Regions from separate parts of the Homo sapiens genome. Here all the other regions are linked to region 3. The links are contacts of gene promoters, found by promoter capture Hi-C in human tissues and cell types (Jung and others, 2019). All regions are on one chromosome and are shown on one strand. Each heading gives the region's core, a stretch centred on a gene start or on the middle of the fragment in contact. The rest is flanking DNA. Distances are from core to core; before and after follow the strand shown.

Region 1 (3,532 bases), core at 882-3,381, 420 kb after region 3:
AAATAATAATAATAGTAATTATTATTATTATTATTATTATTATTATTATTATTACTGGCCAGGCACAGTGGCTCACACCTGTAATCCCAGCACTTTGGGAGGCTGAGGTAGGTTGATCACTTGAGCTCAGGAGTTTGAGACCAGCCTGGGCAACATAGCAAAACCCCGACTCTACCAAAAGTCCAAAAAATTAGCTGAGTGTGGTAGTACGTGCCTGTAATCCCAGCTGAGGCTTAGGTGGAGGGTCACTTGAGCCCAGGAGGTCAAGGCTGCAGTGAGCCAAGATCGCACCACTGTGCTCCAGCCTGGGTGACAGAGTGAGACCCTGTCTAAACATAAATAAATAAATAAATCAGGCCGGGCGCGGTGGCTCACGCCTGTAATCCCAGCACTTTGGGAGGCCGAGGCGGGCGGATCACCTGAGGTTAGTAATTCGAGACCAGCCTGACCAACATGGAGAAACCCCGTCTCTACTAAAAATACAAAAACATTAGCTGGACGTGGTGGTGCATCCCTGTAACCCCAGCTACTTTGGGAGGCTGAGGCAGGAGAATCGCTTTAACCCAGGAGGCGAGGTTGCAGTGAGCTGATATCATGCCATTGCCCTGCAGCCTGGGTGACAAGAGTGAAACTCCATCTAAAAAAAATAAATAAATAAAATAAATAATAATAATGAAATCCAACACTTATATAGTACTTACTAAGTGTCAGACGCTATGCTAGTGTCTTACAGGCATGACCTCATGTAGTTAGTTCTGTTATTATCCCCATTTTTCAGGTGGGGAAACTGAGGATGGGGGTGTAAGTAGCTCACTCCAGGTCACAGAGCTAGTAGGTGGGAGTGAGGCTCTGACTGTGGCAGCCCAGCTCCAGGATCTATTCTTTCTCTCCGCTCTCGGAATGAGCTGAGAGGAGAAGAAGAGAAAAGCCTGCATGAAAAGACAGAACTACTGGAAGGGAAAGGGAAGTGGGAGAAAAAATACATGGAAAACATTTGAGATTTTTTAGACAAACCTTATTTTGAAGCCTCTCAAAGCTGCAGTATAAAGGGATGCTGTTTTGGGGGGCACAGCAGTTTAGTGGGAAGAACTGTGGATGAGAAGTCAGAGAACCTGGGCACTAACCTGGCTCTTCTACCATCTCTGTGACACAAAAAAGTCATTTTGTCACTCTGGCCTTGTTTCCTCATCTAAAAAAGAGAAATTATGCTTATTATTACTCTTCCATAGGGTAATTGTAAGAATCTATTCAACATTACTTTGAAGAAAAGTGCTAGATGGAAGAAAGTTCTAAGGACTCCCATTTTTAGATGAGCTTAGGAGGACTTTGGTTTGGCATCTGAAGGTAATAAGTTCCTATTTTTGTTTTCAGGGCACTATATTTGTATGTGTCTTGTAGAACCCACGCTTGGAAATGCTGACAGCAGGCTTCAGGACAGCTGAGCCCCACTAAACACCAAGAAAACCCATGGCTGTGGCTCCATCTTTCAACATGACCAATCCACAGTAAGTAATGCTGGGATCTGCTCTCTGGATCCAGAACTGTGGCTATAAATCTCCCAGAAGATGAAGATCTTCTAATTTAGGCAGCCACTATGTACATTTCCTTTAGCAGGAGGCCACAGAAAATGGAGAAACCTTTCAAAAGCAAGACTCAAGACAAGATTAGGAAGCGCTGAAGGTGAATTAATAAAATGGGAATCGCAAGGAAATTTAGAAATCTGAGAGGGTTTCTAAAACCAGGCTTTATGAAACCCGGGGCAGAATTCTTAAGGGAGAATTGCTTTCATTTCCCAAAACCTGAGATGCCATATGAACCAATCACTTAATCTTACCAAGCACCTGCAAGGTGGTCACTTATTTTGTGTTTTGCAACTGGTTGGTATGAATACTAAGATGAAAACAGCACTCATTCTATTACACCACACTGTCCTGGCCTATCTAGATATGGGCCTGACTGCTCTGTCATCTGGAGTATGAATCTGTTATCTATTGACACAGTAATGCTGTGTAACAACCAACCATAGAACCTTAGTAGAATACAACAAAAAATGTTTATTGCTCACATGTCTGGGGTACTCAGCTAGACAGCTCCTCTGATCTTGGCTGGGATGACTTTTAAATGTGGGTGATAGCTGGCTGTCAGCTGATCTAGAGGAGGCTGGACTCTGCTCCACGTCTCTCATCCTCCAGTAGGCTAGGCTGCTCACCCTCTCATGGGTGATGTTGGAGGTACAAGAGCACAGGCAGAAATTCACAGAGCCTTTTCATGCCTCTGCTGGTGTCTAACCTGGCTCTTCTACCATCTAACATCTCGTTGGCAAAAACAAGTCACATGGCTGAATGCTGAATCAAGCGTTCAGCATTTTTGATGGAAGGAGCTATGAAGTTATATGCCAAAGGGCATAGGCTCAAGGAGAGGTAAAGAATAGAACCATTAATACATTTTGTCTACCATACCGTTCTTTGTATCTAAGGAAAGGGTGTAGGCTAAATATAGCCTATACACTGTGGGACCTTCACCTCACCAGAGGGGGCCTTGTCTCTCTGCTGAGGTGACCACCACATGGCCAGAGATGGTGCCGGGCCGCTGGGACCACTGATGGAAGGGGAACGTGAGGCAGAAACGTTGGAAAGCCAGAAATAGTTTGTTCGCACTTCTTAGAGCCATATCCTGTTAATTTCTCTTATTGATCAGAAAGTTCTCTTTGTTTAGTTCAGTGATCCATAGTTTCCTTGAGTAGTCCAGAAGAAAAGAGAACAAATTCAACCCAGCATCTGCTTTTTGGGAACCATCTGGGGGAGCTGGGATTCCCCCCATAAACACCCACACTTTTATATCAATTGTTGAGAAACACTGAAACCTCACATTCTGTTTCGTTTAAAGATCTTGAGTCATTTTGTAAATGTCAAGCAATGATGAGTACTATTATCTGTGCTTGACAGGTAGCAAAAAGCAAAGGTTTAAATAAAGCCTACAAATGAGAATTGGGCATTAGAAATTACTTGGTGAATTCAGGTGGTCTAGGCAGCCAGGCTGTGGCATTCAAATAAAAATCTCACTTTCTCCTTAGTTATCGGATAATCCAAGCAAAAGAGAAGTAGGTATATTAATCTCTGAACTTCCGGGATAACTGCAGCTGTGGGTTTTTTTTTTTTTCTTTTGAGATAGAGTTTCACTCTTGTTGCCCAGGCTGGAGTGCAATGGCCCAATCTCAGCTCACTGCAACCTCCATCTCCCGGGTTCAAGCGATTCTCCTGCCTCAGCCTCCCAAGTAGCTGGGATTACAGGCATGCGCCACCACATCCGGCTAATTTTGTGTATTTTTAGTAGAGACGGTTTCACCATGCTGGTCAGGCTGGTCTTGAACTCCTAACCTCAGGTGATCCACCTGCCTTGGCCTCCCAAAGTGTTGGGATTACAGGCGTGAGCCACCATGCCCGGCCTGCAGCTGTGTATTATTGGTTAGATTTCAATGGTTGTTGGAAAAGTTTAGAATTTAGAGCTCCCACACAAGTATAGGGACTTGTCA
Region 2 (3,667 bases), core at 942-3,441, 270 kb before region 3:
CTCATCAAATGTCATGCATGAACTTGGAACACAGCCATTCTATAAATTTTTTGTTTCTTTTAAGAAACAAGGGGTCGGGCGCGGTGGCTCATGCCTGTAATCCCAGCACTTTGGAAGGCCAAGGCAGGCGGATTACGAGGTCAGGAGATCGAGACCATCCTGGCTAACAAGGTGAAGCCCCGTCTTTACCAAAAATACAAAAAATTAGCCAGGCGTGGTGGCAGGCGCCTGTAGTCCCAGCTGCTCGGGAGGCTGAGGCAGGAGAATGGCGTGAACCTGGAAGGCAGAGCTTGCAGTGAGCTGAGATCGCGCCACTGCACTCCAGCCTGGGTGACAGAGCGAAGACTCTGTCTCAAAAAAAAAAAAAAAAAAAAGAACAAGAAAAAGAAACAGGGTTGGCCAGGTGCAGTGGCTCACGCCTGTAATCTCAGTACTTTGGGAGGCCAAGTCGGGTAGATCACGTGAGGTGAGGAGCTCAAGACCAGCCTAGCCAACATGGTGAAACCCCATCTCTACTAAAAATACAAAAAAATTAGCCGGGCATGGTGGCGTGTGCCTATAATCCCAGCTACTCAGGAAGCTGAGTCAGTAGAATTGCTTGAACTTGGGAGGTGGAGGTTGACCGAGATCTCGCCACTACACTCCAGCGTGGGCAACAGAGCCAGACTCCGTCTCAAAAAAACAAAAAACAAAATAAAAAAAAAACAGGGTCTTGCTCTATTGCCCAGGCTAGAGTACAGTGGCATGATCATAGCTCATTACAGACTGCTGGGCTCAAACAATCCTCCCACCTCAGCTTCCTAAGTAGCTGGGACTACAGAGTGGCTAATAAGAAAAAAATTTTTTTTAGAGACAGGGTCTCCCTACATTGCACAGGCCGGTCTTGAACTCCTGGCCACAAGCGATCCTCCTGCCTCAGCCTCCCGAGTAGCTGGTGTATACCACTACACTTGGCTTCCACTCTGTAAACAGGTACACACCACCACGCTTGGCTTCCATTTTGTAAATTTTGATTCCAGGTTTCAGGTACAGCTCTAGTAAGGTTCTAGCTTATCACCTCTGGGTCTTTTTTTCCCTTTCTGCCCATCAAATGAAATACTTTGAAAACTCACTTCATAATTTTGTTGGAGAGAACAGTCATCTTCTTTGCTCCATAATCATAAGCATTCTCATTTTTAGACTAATAAATGTCAATCAGAATGAACAATCCAGGCTGAGCGTGTGGCTCTTGCCTCTAATCCCAGCACTCTCAGAGGCCGAGGCGGGTGGATCACGAGGTCAGGAGATTGAGACCATCCTGGCTAAAACGGTGAAACCCCATCTGTACCAAAACTACAAAAAATTAGCTGGGTGCAGTGGCACGCACCCGTAGTCCCAGCTACTCGGGAGGCTGAGGCAGGAGAATCGCTTGAACCCAGGAGGCAGAGGTTGCAGTGAGCAAAGACCATGCCACTGCACTCCAGCCTGGGTAACAAGAGTGAGACTCTGTCTCAAAAAAAAAAAAAAAAAAAAAAAAAAAAAAAAACTGATTTTTTTTTTCATTTTTACATAATTTTTCCTTCTAACCATCTTTATACATATACGTAACTTTGGCACCTGTCCACTTACAAACTGCATCAACTAAGTTTTGGTGTACAAATATCTTGAAAGATGAAAGAATACTATCATACATCTTTTTGGCAAAGTGCAGTGGTTTTGATTGTTTTTTTTTTTCATTTCTTAAAAATAGAAATGGGGTCTCACTATGTTGCCCAGGCTGGTCTCGAACGTCTGGGCTCAAGCGATCCTCCCACCTCAGCCTCCCAAGAAGGTGGGATTGCAGGCATATGCCACTGCACCCAGCCCAGTTCTGATTCTTATAAAAAGAAAATCACATTCTAGCTGGATGCCTATAGTGCCAGTTACTTGGGGGAACTGAAGCAGGAGAACAGCTTGAGCTCAGGAATTTAAATCCAGCCTGGGCAACATAGTGAGATAGATCCCATCTTTAAAAAAAAAAAAAAAAAAAAAAAAATTCACCGCTGGGCATGGTGGCTCACGACTGTAATCCCAGCACTTTGGGAGGCCAAGGCAGGTGGATCACCTGAGGTTGGGAGTTCAAGACCAGCCTGACCAACATGGAGAAACCCCATCTTTTACTAAAAATACAAAAAATTAGCCAGGCATGGTGGTACATGCCTGTAATCCCAGCTACTTGGGAGGCTAAGGCAGGAGAATCCCTTGAACCCAGGAGGCGGAGGTTGCGGTGAGCCGAGATTGTGCCATGGCACTCTAGCCTGGGCAATAAGAGCAAAACTCTGTCTCAAAAAAAAAAAAAAAAAAAAAATCACATTCTAAACTCATCTAGGGTACAGTCACATATGTATATGGGTGGAGACAGAATCTTGCTATGTTGCCCAGCCTGGTTTTGAAGTACTGGGCTCAAGTGATCCTCCCATCTCAGCCTCCCGAGATGCTAGGATTACAGGTGCACGCCACCATGCCTGGCTGAAGACTCTTATTTTACAACTTGGTTTATATAACTTTACCGTCATCCTAACAGTCTAGAGTACTACTGTCACACAGCATTCATCTACTAGTTCCTCTGAAATGTCTTCTGTAGTCAGTTTTCTTCTCTTTGCCATTATAGGAGGAAGATGAAAAACTATGGATTTTTAAATATGTCCAATGAAAGCTTAAAAGTTGAAAAATAGTATAAAAATTACCATGTACTCCTTCACCTAGATTCTCCAAATGTTAACATCTTACATAATGTTTAAGATGGTATCTCCCAACTTCTTTTATACTTTCTTGAAAGATGCTGTAGGCTGGGCATGCTGGCTCATGCCTGGAATCCCAGCACTTTGGGAGGCTAAGGTGGGTGGATTGTTTGAGCCCAGGAGTTCGAGACTAGCCTAGACAACATGGCGAAACGTTCTCTCTACAAAAAAAATACAAAAATTAGCCAGGTGTGGTGGCACATGCCTGTAGTCCCAGCTACTTGGAGGGCTGAGGTGAGATTGCTTGAGTCTGGGAGGCGAAGGTTGCAGTGAACTGAGATTGCGCCACTGCACTCCAGCCTGGGTGACAGAGTGAGACCCTGTATCCAAAAAGAAAAAAAAAGTTGCTGTAAGTTTTGGGAAAAGCAATAAGAAAACTGAAGGGCTGCGGTGCACACCTATAGTCCCAGCTACCGAGGATGCTTAGGAGGGATGATCACTTGAGCCCAGAAGTTTGAGGCTGCAGAGAGCTATGATCATACCACTGCCCTTCGGCCTGGGCAACAAAGCGAGGCCCCATCTCTAAAAACTGAAGTGTAAAACTAATGATTTATTTCACTACTGCATATCCTTTTAAGCAATTCTATAATTCTCCCTTTGTCATATTATTTTAGTCCTCTTTAGCATATTTGAGAATTGATGAGTAATGATGAAATAATTCCTAGGATGATGAAATACCAAAACATTTCAATATACAGGAAAAATAAGATCAGTAAAACTCCACAACATTGTTTCGATGTACAAGTGGTAATAGCTAAAATGAGTTTATTCCTTTGGAAAAAAAATAAATTTTCAGGCTGGGCATGGTGACTCATGCCTGTAATCGCAGCACTTCGAGAGATAAGAAGTTTGAGGCCAGCCTGGCCAATATGGTGAAACCCCATTTCTACTAAAAATACAAAAATTAG
Region 3 (3,446 bases), core at 557-3,056:
CCAGGCTGCTGGCCTTCCTGTCTCAACACCCCTCTGCTTACGCCCACCTTGGTGCCTCTGAGTCAGCGCCCCTGCCTGGAGGACTGACTCCCTTCCCATCCACCAAGGCTTGGTTTGAGGCCCACCCTGTGTCCTGCCCCAGCTTGCCCCTGCTTTTCTCCCCTCTGTACTTTTCATCCAGATTTTTGCTGTTTGAGATTTAATTTGCCTTTCTGCCTCCTGAATGAGTCTCAGTTCAGCCTCTCAATTTCCCGTGCCCCTGCGAGCCTAGCACCATGCCTGCATGCTGTCAGGGCTAAGAAGGTATTTGAGAATGGCTCTCAGTTGAAGCCCAAGGAGGTGGGGGTACTGGAATCCCTCCTTGGCTGGAGGCTGGGGCCTGAATGAGCTGACCACCCTGGTCACCTTGGATGCTCCCTTCCCATCTCCCTGGCGGCCCAGCCCATCCCTCAGGCCCTGAGATCTTAGGGGATCTGGTCCCTGCAGGAACAGGGAGCCTGGAGATCCAGCCCTGATTCACCCCGCGGGGGTCCTCCCTTGACTCACTTCCCTTCTGGGAACCATGTGATGCCCTCTTTTAGAGCTGGCTTCTCCATCTGAAGGAGAGAAGGGTGTGGCCTGGGCCCTTGTGAAGGAGGCTCAGGCCCTGCCTTTGCTCCATGTTGCTCTTGGGAATGATCTCGAAGGTGTAGCTGAAGCACTGAATCACACGTGGGTAGTGATGATGGATGGGCCCTAAGGCCACAGTTCTTATGGCATAACTAGAGCTGCCTTCGCTGAAGGAAGAATGCTGTCATGTTGGGGTTTCTGGCATCGGGACAGAGAGGGGATATATCCCAGCACTTCTCGGAAAGCGAACTTCCATTCAGCCTCTGCTGGGTCAGGCATCAGTGCTGGGATGAGGAGGTGTGGCAGGGGGTGGTCCAGAGCTATCTGTAGGACAAGCCCCGCTGAGGGGCACCAGCTCTCCCTCTAGGAGGCTGAGAGTGGGTAGTGGGTGGGGGGTCCTGCCTGTCACCAACAGGAGGAGGGAGAGGAGAGAATGAAGAGGGGAGGTGGCAGATAGACGGATCTGCAAGGAAGCAAGGGGAGGAAAGAAGGGGCAGAGCTGGGGGGCAGCTGGAGGGGTGTGGGGGTGCTCCTCACAGGGGAGGGCAGGGTGGCTCATTCCTCGTTTCCCACCTTGTAGCACTCCCCATTCCTGGCCCAGGGCATCTGAAGCTGGAGGACCCACTTCTCACTGTCGCCGGGTCCCTTTGGACCCCAACATACTCACCCCAAACTTGCCTGGCAAACAAAGCTCGGCCAGCATTGGGGTGGCCCCACTGGTGTCTCAGACAATCCAAACGGGCAAAGCCACGCCCTAGGCAATCCATGCCTGGGGCGCCTGCTCCCGCCCCTAACTGGACAGCCTTGGCTAGCTAGAAACCCCATAACCTGAGATAGCGGGGTCCCGTGTCCGCCCCAGGATTGAACCCCTGGCGACCCCAGCTAGTGGTGGGAGAAGCGCAGCCTGCTTGACTCCCGATCTGGGGGCCACTTCTGGCTCCTCCTGTCCCTTTTCCCTCCCGGAGGAACCCCTCTAGTTCCGCCAGGCTGGGTCGGGGTCTCAGGCCCCTCACTCACCCGCGGATGCAAGTCTGGCCAACATAGTCAGGGTCAAAGCCAAGGCCAGGCCGGGGGCTGGAAGTGGGGGCCGCGGCCCGGACTGCATCCCGGCGGGCTGGGCGGCAGGACTTGCGAGGAGCCAGCGGAGTCCTGGGAGCTGGGAGCTGAGTGGAGCGAGCGCGGCTCTGCTCCTGGGCGCGGGCCGGCTCCGGGTGTCCGCGCACTTAACTCCGGGGGCGGGGCAGGCGCAGACCCGCGCGCCCGCTCGGGTTTCAGGCTTGGACTCCCCCACCTGCCCCCACCCTCAACCTTCTTAAAGGGCCCGTGCGGGGCTGTTCCTCTCTGGGGCAGGGGTGAGGGGGCCCTTGCAGCTGGGCCAGACCCCAGCCCCACCCTAAAGACTTAGAACAAAGTCATAGAGAGGCCCAGACACCCTGAACTCTGGCCCCAAGAGCCGAGCCCGGGAGACCCCCTCAGGGAGGAGGCATGAACTGTCCCAGCCCCTACTTCCCTCCTTTCTGCCTTTGCGGGAGTTCAGGAGACCCCTCCACAGGCACACTCCAGCCTTAGGAGGAAGGACAGACACCAGCCACCCTCACAGGCGGCTTTTGGGCTGCTTTGCCTCGGAGGTCCCCTAGGAACTTCTCCAGACTCCAGAGGCACCACCCGAGGTCCTGTGGGGCACTGCCCATGGCTGCAACAGTGACCTTCTCTGCCTGGAAGGGCCTCACCTCAGTCTCCCTGTCTGTAAGGGAGAGATGTCTGGATTTCCTCGCAGGGCAGAAGAATTCTCAGTCCCGCCATGACATTTGCCTCAAAATAACCTTGCAAGGTGGGTGAGGAGCATCCCCTCCCCCATTTCATGGAGGACGAAAGTGCAGCTCAAGCTGAAAGTGGCTCTTACAAGACTCCAGGTGGAAAGTAGGTCCCTGGCCGTTTGGTGCCAGAAGCCCAGGCCTCCTGACCCCTGAATCCGGGTGTTTCAACTTCCCGAGGCTGCCTCCTGGAAATCTGGCCCTGGATTTGGCTTCTACCTAACAGCTTCAGGCTGGGGCCCTTCTGCTGGCTCCCTTCCAGGCAGCAACATCAGCCTAGTCCCAAACAGGAGGAGAAAGGGCAATGTTACTTAGCTTCCGGTGCCTAGAGGATCTGCGTGTTCTCTGTCCAGTCCCAATGTTACCGGGCCTTGGTTTACTTCCTCCATTCAGGTCCCTCCATCTATCTGCTCCAGCCCATCTCCAGCCCAACCCCACCTTGCACCCTCTTCCCAGCTCTTCCCTTTGACCAGTAACAGCCCAGCACTTCATACTTTGCAACGAAACTGAGACCTGTTTTGCAGATGAAGAAACTGAGGCTGAGAGAGATTAAGGGACTGGAGCTAGTCTACATAGCTGCTGAGATGTGGGGCCAGGTCTTTGACCCTAAGTGCAGTGCTCAGGTGTGATGGTGCCTGGTCCATGTGGGGGTTATGAGTATTGGTCTTGAAACCAGAGAGACCTGGGTTCAAATCCCAGCTCCCTTACTTGGTTGTCAAACCTTGAACAAGTCCCCTCACCTCTCTGTGGCAGTTTCCTCATTTGTAAAATTGGGTTAATGAGGATTAAATGCTTTAATGTACCTCAAGTCCCTAGCCCAGGGCCTGGCATACGGTAGGTGCTCAATAAATGCTTATCCTTTCTCCTCCGTCTCTGTCATCCTGCACATTCCCTGTGATTCATGGTTTACATACAGCTTTACACATATCACCTCCCTTGTTGTAAAGCTTGAACTTTCTCCTCCAGAGGCTGCTGCATACAGTAGGTGTACAATAAATGCCTGCTGTAGTTGACTAAGAAACC

Evidence for each region. Contacts are between HindIII fragments. The study calls those that stand out against the background at their distance.
Region 1: a contact is called between a fragment that was not itself captured here and the fragment with the promoter of CSPG4 in region 3, in 1 of the 25 tissues and cell types used here (spleen).
Region 2: a fragment that was not itself captured here is called in contact with the fragment with the promoter of CSPG4 in region 3 in 1 of the 25 tissues and cell types used here (lymphoblastoid cells).

Annotation. Positions count from the first base shown.
Region 1 is chr15:76,132,797-76,136,328 of GRCh38, forward strand. TMEM266 (transmembrane protein 266) reads left to right here. Exons shown (of 11, transcript NM_152335.5): 2 at 1,372-1,505. The coding sequence starts at 1,492. Among named protein-coding and RNA genes, the nearest start is that of TMEM266, 75 kb to the left of the region's middle. The HindIII fragment of the contact is 8,709 bases long and covers 1-3,532 here.
Region 2 is chr15:75,440,629-75,444,295 of GRCh38, forward strand. All of the region lies in intron 1 of SIN3A (SIN3 transcription regulator family member A), which reads right to left. Among named protein-coding and RNA genes, the nearest start is that of SIN3A, 9.2 kb to the right of the region's middle. RefSeq lists a silencer at 375-524. The HindIII fragment of the contact is 9,103 bases long and covers 1-3,667 here.
Region 3 is chr15:75,711,042-75,714,487 of GRCh38, forward strand. CSPG4 (chondroitin sulfate proteoglycan 4) reads right to left here and starts at 1,807. Exons shown (of 10, transcript NM_001897.5): 1 at 1,627-1,807. The coding sequence starts at 1,714. The HindIII fragment of the contact is 20,321 bases long and covers 1-3,446 here.